Regions from separate parts of the Homo sapiens genome. Here regions 1 and 2 are each linked to region 3. Evidence: promoter capture Hi-C in 16 types of primary human blood cells and fetal thymus (Javierre and others, 2016). All regions are on one chromosome and are shown on one strand. The core of a region is centred on a gene start or on the middle of the fragment in contact, and the rest is flanking DNA. Distances in the headings are between cores, read along the strand shown. Region 1 overlaps SUGCT (succinyl-CoA:glutarate-CoA transferase). Region 2 overlaps SUGCT (succinyl-CoA:glutarate-CoA transferase). Region 3 holds the start of INHBA (inhibin subunit beta A).

What was found. The method cuts DNA at HindIII sites, captures the fragments that hold promoters and counts their contacts. A CHiCAGO score of 5 or more calls a contact.
Region 1: a contact is called between a fragment that was not itself captured here and the fragment with the promoter of INHBA in region 3, in 1 of 17 cell types (M2 macrophages). The highest score is 5.3, in M2 macrophages.
Region 2: a fragment that was not itself captured here is called in contact with the fragment with the promoter of INHBA in region 3 in 1 of 17 cell types (naive B cells); the score reaches 5.6 in naive B cells.

The regions. Positions count from the first base shown.
Region 1 is chr7:40,532,045-40,535,367 of GRCh38, forward strand. All of the region lies in intron 12 of SUGCT (succinyl-CoA:glutarate-CoA transferase), which reads left to right. Among named protein-coding and RNA genes, the nearest start is that of SUGCT-AS1, 13 kb to the right of the region's middle. The HindIII fragment of the contact is 712 bases long and covers 1,299-2,010 here.
Region 2 is chr7:40,405,951-40,409,327 of GRCh38, forward strand. The region is part of intron 9 of SUGCT (succinyl-CoA:glutarate-CoA transferase); the gene reads left to right. Among named protein-coding and RNA genes, the nearest start is that of SUGCT-AS1, 140 kb to the right of the region's middle. The HindIII fragment of the contact is 166 bases long and covers 1,584-1,749 here.
Region 3 is chr7:41,701,771-41,704,937 of GRCh38, forward strand. It overlaps INHBA (inhibin subunit beta A), which reads right to left and starts at 1,320. Exons shown (of 3, transcript NM_002192.4): 1 at 1,235-1,320. All of the region lies in intron 1 of INHBA-AS1 (INHBA antisense RNA 1), which reads left to right. The HindIII fragment of the contact is 6,998 bases long and covers 1-3,167 here.

The DNA of each region.
Region 1 (3,323 bases), core at 405-2,904, 1.2 Mb before region 3:
TGGGTAACCATTTGTTCAGAAGCCTGGGAAGTAAGGGAACTAGCCTAAGGGGTGAGGCCAACTGCAAGGTTGGTCTCATACAGATGTTCATCTGGGGTTGGTTAAAATTGTTTTGAAATTTCTTCTTCAGAAATAAGGATCCAATGCTCATGAATGATTTGATGTCTTAGAGTGACTCAAAGTATCAGAAACATTTTAAGTATTTAGTTTGGAACCATTAAAATGAAACAAATGAAAATTTAGCCATGCCTTATACTCCTTGAGTGACCATCAGGAAGAAAATAGTCATTCTTTTAAGTGAAAATTTATTAATGTGGGGTTAATTCCCCTAAGGAGAGGCCTAATGATAAGCATTAGATAGGTATCTGTGTGTGTATAATTTTTCTGGAATGGAGAGAATCTGTAGGATTCTTAAGACCCAGTAAATTCTGAAGGATTAAGAATCACTTCAAGTCTGACACCCTGAACTGAGCAAGTATGTCTGTGTGTGTGTGTGTGTGTGTGTGTGTGTGTGTGTGTGTGTGTATTTGCTGTGTTTGTGGATCGCCTTGGATTACTTTTAATCTGTAGTGTGAGGTTCTCTAGAGTTGATTCTAGGTAAGCAAGCAAAAATTTTTAGACATTTTAGGTTAACATTAGGCAAAGAAGGTTTTTCGTTTGTTTTGTTTTTTAATATTAAGAGGGGATGTTCATAAAGTAACATACTGATTCCATTATGTCATCCAAACAATAGTATCAACACTATGTTCCACAACAGTAAAGCTTTAGGACCTGTAAATTAATGTTTCGTATGTGAATTATGAATACAATATTTTAATTATGTTGAAATTAAACCAATACCACATCATCAGTCTCTCAGCTCACATGAGTAAATAGAAATGTGATCTTTAATTTTTATTGAGTTGCTTAACAGTTTCTGCTTTGTAAAATCTGTGATAGGCTACTAAATCCCTTTATAAACCCTTCCTTTTACCCCCAAAATATTTTCAGATGGTGCAGAATATAACAAGTTGCTATAGTAACTGTGCAAGCTAAAGTAATATGCCCTGTAATAGCCATGAAATACAAGTAGCATTATTTTGAATTTTGTGTTAAAAACAGAAATGTATAAAGGTGATACAATAATAAATAAAATTTAATTATGTGTTGACCAATGAAACAAAAATCTGTGAGTCACATTTTCCTCACCTATAAAATTTTTGCACATTCTCAATTGTTTCATATGTGTCTATTTTGTTAAAGGGTAGTTCTAAACTTTCTTTTACTTTGCTTAAATTATTGCTCTCAAAATATAAACAAGCTTAGTAATAGTGTATCTAATCAATCTAATTGATATTTTAGAATATCAATTAAGTGTTAATATTTATATTTTACTATAATTATGCAGAAATATATAAATCCAAAATCTTGTTTTATGTTTTTACAGTTTTGTAGACTTTTTTTGCATTTGGAGAATATTTTTGACATATTTTCCACAATTGCAAAGAAATTTTGAAATTTAGCCACTTCTAAAGAACTACTTCTAATTTTGAAGGCAAAGAAATTATCTTTAAGTCTACATTTAACCTATTTAAGAGAATTCTTATAACTTAGCATATAACCAAAATTTAGGCAAAACATAAATTCTGATCTGAAAAATAGTATTACCTACTTGATTTTCCATCACTTATATGTTCTATTAAATAACAACTTTCTAAAACATCTAGTGTTTTAATAACTTTTGTGAACATTTCAGTCACACCTAATAATGCATCATAATATAAATACAGCATGTTTTAAAAAGTTACTCAGCTTCTTTTACATTATTACTCCCTATTGGTTAAAATATTGCAAAATGGACAGTCTTTTTACAGATGTACACAAATAACTTACAGGTTTGGGAACAGTTTGCAATTCTTTAATTGCCATTTTCTCTGAAAACTATCACTGCTACATCCAAAAGACATATGTGACATTCGAAAGTATATACTTAAATTTTGTAGCTAAGTGTTTGTGTGTGTTAATGGCATAAGCTTAGGATTGGCATAAATTTTTAGGAAAATAACTTTAAATTGGTACCATTTAAAAAAATCCCCAATACCTATTTGTGATGATCTTACTATGTTCTCTTAAGACTAATGAAACTAGAGAAACTCTCTTTGAGATGGTTTTTGTCTATTGCCTGTAACTTACCACAGATTCTGTTTTTGTGGTGTGCTATTAGTTGTCACTTCCAATATAATTTAATAATTCTAAGGACATTGATCTTATTGATAGTGTTCAGTAAGAATTTGCTTTTCATTATGCCAATGATTTCATATTGAATTAGGACATATTTGTAAGAATCAAATAATTAGTTCTTAATTTCTTTTTTTTTTTGAGACGGAGTCTCACTCTGTCGCCTAGGCTTTAGTGCAGTGGCACGATCTTGGCTCACCGCAACCTCCACCTCCCAGGTTCAAGCGATTCTCTTCCTCAGCCTCACGAGTAGCTGGGACTACAGGCATGTGCTGCCATGCCCAGTAGCTGGGTTTACAGGCATGTGCCGCCGTGCCCAGCTGATTTTTGTATTTTTAGTAGAGACGGGGTTTCGGCATGTTGGCCAGACTGGTCTTGAACTCCTGACCTTAGGTGATCCACCCACCTAGGCCTCCCAAAGTGCTGAGATTACAGGTGTGAGCCACTGCGCCCGGCCTAAAATTTCTTTATCTTTCATTCTGATTTCCAGTAATTTCCGAATAACCTTTAGTTAAATTTGAAAAATTACTTATGCCATTATAATGGTAAACATGCTTTCAAGAAATAAAATGTTTTCGACTATAAGTTTTGCCTACTCTATTTGTCTTAACATATGTTTATAACTTATTGGTGACAGGTGATCACAAAGAGATTTTCCCCAAAACTGAAATGATTTCAAATATATTTATTTATAAGATTTTTTAATGTTTTTAGTGTTTGGTGAGTGACTCTTCTCTATAGATTACATTTTCATGGCAGAACAAATTTGCATTCAATTAAATATAATATCTTCATTATCATTTATCTAAATATAAAGATGCAATAAAACATAGTCTATCTCAAAATTTTTATAATTTGGAGATAAGTTTGTATATATAATATCACTTATTTTTAATTTTTTTTCCTCCAACTTTTAGATTCCATGGGTACATGTGCTGGTTTGTTACCCAGGTGTATTGTGTGATGCTGAGGTTTGGGTTACAAATGATTCCATCAGCCGGGTGCTGAGCATGATACTCAATAGTTAGTTGGTCAACCCTTGTTCCCCTTCCTCCCTACCCCCGGTAGTCCCCAGTTTCTATTGCTGCTGTCTTTATGTCCATGTA
Region 2 (3,377 bases), core at 417-2,916, 1.3 Mb before region 3:
AATTTATCAACATGGGAATTGCAATAGAGTTTAATACTCATAGAGCTAGCTAAATGGGAGACAGGAGTTTTATCATTCCTTAAATCAGCCTCCCTGAAAATTTGGAGCATAGGGTTTTTCGAAGGTAGTTTGATAGGCAGGTGGCTAGGGAATGGGGGATGCTGATTGGTTGAGTGGGGGATAAAATCATAGGGAGCTGAAGCTGTCTTCTTGCTGAGTCAGTTCTTACAGATGAGATGATACAGTGTACTAGTCTGGATGACGCCAGCTGGTTCATCAGAATGCAGGGTCTGAGAAATACCTCCAATACCAATCTTAGGTTTGACAATGGTAATATTATATATAGGAGTAACTGGGGAGGTTAGGAATCTTGTGGCCTTTGGCTGTGTGACTTGTGAGCCATAATTTCTAATGTTGTGGCTGATTTATTAGTTTCACAAAGGCAGTGTGGTCCCCAAGCAAGGATGGGTTCATTTTGGGGAGGGACTGTTATCATCTTTGTTTCAAAGTTAAACTATAAAGTAAATTCCTCTCAAGTTTGGCCTACACAGAGGAATGAACGAGGGCAACTTGGAGGTTAGAAGCAAGATGGAGACAGGTCAGATTTCTTTCACTTTCAGAGTTTTCTCACTGTCATAATTTTTTCAAAGGTCTTTTCATTAGGCAAGGAAATTGATTTATTTAGGTTAACTAGAGAGTTAACCTGATTAGGGTTTGTTCAATTGTGAGTTAATGTACACTATTCTCTTTATTCAAAAAGTTGTAATTTAATCATAAGAATGTATCTCAGGGATAAGTATTCCAAAAATCTGTCCTAGACTTTTGAGAAGTTTTTAAAAGAGTAAATAATATTGCAAAGTATACTGGTTTTTTAGGTGCTCATTCATATTCAATGACAGCTGAGAGAATTCTGAATTTTTACAATGATCATTTGGCATGGGACTAGAAACAAAGGATCCCTCAGCTATTTTTGCTAAGCTTTAAATTATACATATGGACAGAAAACTGGGAAATATGATGATAGTCTAGGTTCTTGGTTGAAAACAAGTTTCGAAATAAAGTCTACCTTACAAAAATAAAAACTTAAATACATTTTTTTGTCAAAAAAGATAAAAAAAAGAACAAAGAGCTTGAAGGCCTTCTTTGAAGACTACAACAAAGAAAACAAAATATGAATGAATATAAGAATTCAAATGCACAAACGTACACAAAAATGCTTGCAATTCACCTTATTGTCATCAGATAAATTTTGCCGTTCACGTATCTTTGTTGATTCAAGGAAAATTTTACCCTGATTGGCTCTATGAATAGAAATATAATAAATGTAGCTGTGTGATATTCCAAAAGCTGGATGAAATGGCTTTTAGTATTTAAGCATAATTCCAGATATTTTGTTTTAATAAAACAATGAAAGTTAGCATTTGTCAGGATATTATCTGAAATTAATGTAAATATTCAATTATTTATATATCTTTAAAGTTGATGAAAATATAAAATATTATATTAAAACTGGCAAAAATTAAAAAAAAGAAGTACGTCATCATTTATGGTCCTCTTTAAGTCTTAAGAAGATAGAAATAGTAAGCTTCAGTACTAAGAAGAAGATCATGCCAAAAAAAAGAGTATTGTTCTGTTCAGTGTTAAGTATTGAAGAATGAACAGCATTGACAATAACTTTGTTTTTGATCTTCCCTCGTTCTATTTTGGCACTCCTCTGCAAAAGGATTTGGCAGATCTGAGCTTTTAGAAAGCTTTTCTTAGGAATGAATTAAGAGTCCCCCCCTCCCCCAATTTACGAATTGGCAACATAGACTAGAAGAAAATTTTCATTTATATTTCCTCTAAACGAGACTATCTTAGCTTAAAACAGGACATATTCTCTGAAATAAGAGCCATCCAATTCATTCCCTAGTGATGCTGGAATAGTTTTCTATTACCATAAACTACCTTACCCCTGAGTTCAGACGTTTTCTTTAGTTCTATTTTACCTATTTTCTTTGAAAGGATATTAATGGTTTATTGATTTCGATGCCGCCAAGCTTCTCCAAGTCATTCAGATTAAATGTACTTTTCTGTAGTCTTTTGGTAGTCATTATGTAAAAAAATTTGGAAGGCAAATTGAAGATGATACCTTTTTTATTTAAAAGACAGTATTGCTAGAGCATTTCTTAAACTTGAAAGCAACATTAATTACAGTTACCTCCTTTTGTTTAAATGACAGATGCTCTTGGTTAATGTATAATGCATATATGTGCATATTCTATTTATCATATATATTGGAGCTACTATTGAGAAAATATTCTTTAGTTACTTTTCTAGAGATACTCATCTATATTACTAGTAATTTAGGAAACCTAGTCCTTATCATTTGAACACTTTTGTTCCTGAAACCATGTTAAAAACTGACTTCTGCAAACCGAAGGATTGACTTGATTATTTTTATCCCATCCTAGTATGCCTCCCGCTTTCTGCTTACTTAGATGGTGACCTCGTGGAACTCCTCATGAAGTCCTAATTTTCCAAGTCAATACCCAACTGTCTAAGAATATTTTTCAGCCATTTTCTTTTTCACAGTTTACCTGGGTTATAGTTTATTACCAAAGCAATTTTTCCCACAGTTGCATCATTGTGGAGGGAATCTCAGATTTATAGAATTTTTAAAAACTTTTTTTCTTTTCTAATTACAACTTCCATTGAACCCATACTATTAAAATAACATTTATGAGCTTTTTCTAATTACGAAATGGAAGCATTCTCATTGTTGGAAATTTGGAGAGCTCAGGAAAATACCAAAATGACAGGGAAACACAAAACAAACAGAAGCAAAATGAAGTCATTTGCCCAAAGATAAGTAGTGTGGGCCCTTCAAATAGTTATTCCATTCACCTTTAACCATTTATGTTAATAATACCTCAGTGATTTGAACTTATTTTATGAACAGATACACAAAGGCCTACATGGTTTTGGCCTTTATTTTCTGTTCTCTCTCTCTCTGCTTTTTGTTTCTTTTGTTTGTTTTTTTGAGACAGCATCTTGCTGTGTCGCCTGGGCTGGAAGCTGTGGTGCAGTCATGGCTCACTTGCAGCTTCTACCTCCCAGGCTCAAGTGATCCTCCCACCCCAGCCTCCTGAGTAGCTGGAACTGTAGGCGCAAGCCACTGCACCTGGCCAAGTTTTGTATTTTTTGTTGAGCTGGGGTTTTACCATGATGCCCAGGCTGGTCTCAAACTTATGAACTCAAGCTATCTGCCCACCTTGGCCTCTCCAAAGTGCTGGGATTACAGGTGTGAGCCATCATGCTGAGCTGTCTCTCTTTTTTATTTTTATTTTTTGAGACAGGGTCTTGCTCTGTTGCCCGGGCTGTATTGCAATGGTGCG
Region 3 (3,167 bases), core at 70-2,569:
TTGGCAAATTATTTTTCTCTGTCATGTGGTAGTTTTTTCAGCTTGCCCCAAGCCTGTCCCGACCAGTGCATTCATAGACAGCCTCCTTGACTGCTTCTTTTTCCCTCAAAGGAACAGTGCAGATGAAATCATCATGGATTTTAGTGTGCACAGAAAAAGAAAAATGTGAATTTTTTAACAATGCCTTTCTAAGGCTTAAAAAAAATTCTTCCCCCTCCCCTCTTTTTCATTTTCTGTCTTATTGCTTTTATCTTGCAGAAGAATCTTTAAGGGGTCCATCTGTTAAAGCGTTCCTTCCCTCTCGGTTTCTTTCCCACACATAAGCCCTCTTGGTTTCTGAAGATACACTCAGCTTATATCTGACACCTAGTGTGTTCATAGCATTACAGTCAAGCAATGCAGTTTAGGTGGAAAGAGTTAATAAATATCATTACTACAAGATAAGATCTGAGTGCAAGGGGAAGAGGGCAAGAAAATTGTGACACTAAGTTATAATTACAGTTTGCACAGGTTAACAATGCTTTCTGAATTATATATACTGTCCCCTTTTCCAAAACAACTATTTGTAAGACTTTTTCTGTTACAAGTAACCTAACACCTTTGGGGTTTCAGCTCCAGAAACATCAATTACTCCACCATTATTGTTAAAACTTTGTCAACATTGCCTAAAAAGCCTCATATTTTTTACGGGGATGGTGAAAGAGAATGGGGGAGGCAGGGGACATTTGTGTTACAATGGTTTTATAAAAAATCTTTGTGCTATAATACTTAACATCATCCACCTATTTGGAGTCACATATACAGTACCCAAAATGTTTTGCAGTTCAATTAAGTTTTACAAGAAAGTCTGAAATACAACCAAAAGTTTAATGGCTCTAAACAACTCAGGAGTCCTAATAGCAGCATTTAGATAAGTGCAACTTATCAATATTTGGATTCTCTCTGCATCTGAGTATGTGTGTGTTCCCTGAATTTACTGTTTGCGAATGTAACTCTTAAAAATAGCTTTCTCTTTGGCATATGTACTTGTATATATGTGCTGAGTGGCTTGTATAAACATATAATCTATTTGCATGCTCTAGGACTATTAAAAGCTGTATTAACCTGCCTGAATAATATAAAAAGGTACACATCACAATGCACATTGGAAATGCCAATTAGTTGTAAAATTCCTCCTAGCTTTCCTATCTTTGAATGTGTAAAGAGCTCAGAAGTAAGAGTTAAAAAGCATTACCTTTCTGGTCCCCACTCTTCCACCAGCCGGCTCTTGTATCATGTGGTAAGAGCTGTCTGAGCTCCTCTTCATGGTATTGGCACTGTGAAGTTTTATACTGTACTACTTATTTGTACACCACACATTGGTACCACTGAAACAGAGGAGGGCTGGGGCTTTGTTTGGGATTGGTTGGAATCAGCATGACATCAGCGGATGACTGGTTTTTCCAGTGTGAGACATTTCATAATTCATTATCTAATGGAAAGCCCTTCCTGGCTTCTGAGACACTACTGGGTGATGCACTGAGCCAGTGAAACCTCTGGCTAGGATTACTCTACCTTTTAGAAAAACATTGGAATCAAATAGATATGTCTCAATGAGTGTGTCCAACTTTCAACTTTTACTACTCGCACACACGTCTCGTTATATTCAGGTTCAGTTTTATGTCTTTACATAAAACATCTGTTACTTCATGAAGTTGCTTCTATTTACAAAGTATTTTATTGTTTCTTTCAGGAAAGAAAATTGGTAGTGTTCTTTATAGGGATTCTAATTTTATATTTTTAAAATAAGCTATTTCATTGAGGAAAAAAATTGGGAAAATCTGTATAATCATATGATGATGGTCTCCCCCGACCCCAACCAACTTACACTATTATTTTACATCTTGAAATTGAATGCCTGCTTCATAAATCAAGAACTTTGGAAATAGTAATTCTCTTTAAATGAACTTCATAAGTATCCTTCCCAGGTCTTTAGAATCTCATTCTAACTAACCAAACACACACACACACACACACACACACAACAACAACAACAACAAAAACCCTCATGCATCATTCTTTTTTACCAGAACTTCAACTCCTATAATTTCTAAATTGTTACAAATATAACAGCAGATTAATGAAAAGAAGTGAACACTCCTTGAAATAGGGGTAAAGCTGGTCAGGCTTTTTTTGTGGGGGAGGGGTGTTGGCAAGTCTGGTAAATAACACAGGAGGAAGGGGTCCTCTGACAAGAACGGTGAAGGGTTGTTTGAAGGACTACAGTTGAAGCATAAGCCCAGTTCTCATGACAAGTTGGATAAAATGTGCAAAATTGGGAGCTAATGAGAGCCATATGACCAGATATGTTGTTTTGTATGCAGGATTTAACATGCATAAAATAAACTTTTCACTGTGCCCACAAGCAAAATATAGAGGCTCTGGCCTCCTGATGTGTGGCTTAAGCAGGTTCCATTAGGACACCAGAAGTTTTCTGTGTAAAAGGGTCTCTCTTGGCTAGATACAGAGAAAGTGTGGGTGCTGAGCTGCATGGGGGTGGGGGGAAGGAGTATTCTAAGAACTGCATATGCAGAAATGAAGTAGGAAAAAAATCATTAGGTTGTAGAGGAAGAGAGTGAATCTGAGTGGCGAAGACAGAAATAGGATTAATGATGGTGAACTCCAAACCTGCCCCTCAGCTTAGCACTGGGTGAACTCAAACCCTTTATAAGAAAGAAACTTCTCCACCCTTTTTGCTGAGAATTAGTGGAGTCAATGACCTTCAGGGCATCTAAACTCACCCCTGACCCACACATGAACCCTAGTGTCCTGAAAACATCCCCTCCGCCTCCACACAAAGTAGTGTGTGTGTGTGTGTGTGTGTGTGTGTGTGTGTGTGTGTGTGTGTAGGTGACGTGGGGTGGGGGTGGGGGGCACAAAACAAACCCAGATCAGATCCCAGTTCCTCTGCTCACTCACCGTGTAAACTCAGGCCTCAGTGTTCCCATCTATAAAATGGGATCCATGATATGAACCTGTGGGGGTCAAGTGCAGCTGTCAGATAATAATAAGTGATACTATTTCTGAGAAGCCTGGTGGCTGTTCTTAAACATGGGTGTCACAGGAATCTGCAGCTCTCTGACCAGAGGAGCCACAACACAAGTGTGACTCTGAAACTCCGCTGGCCA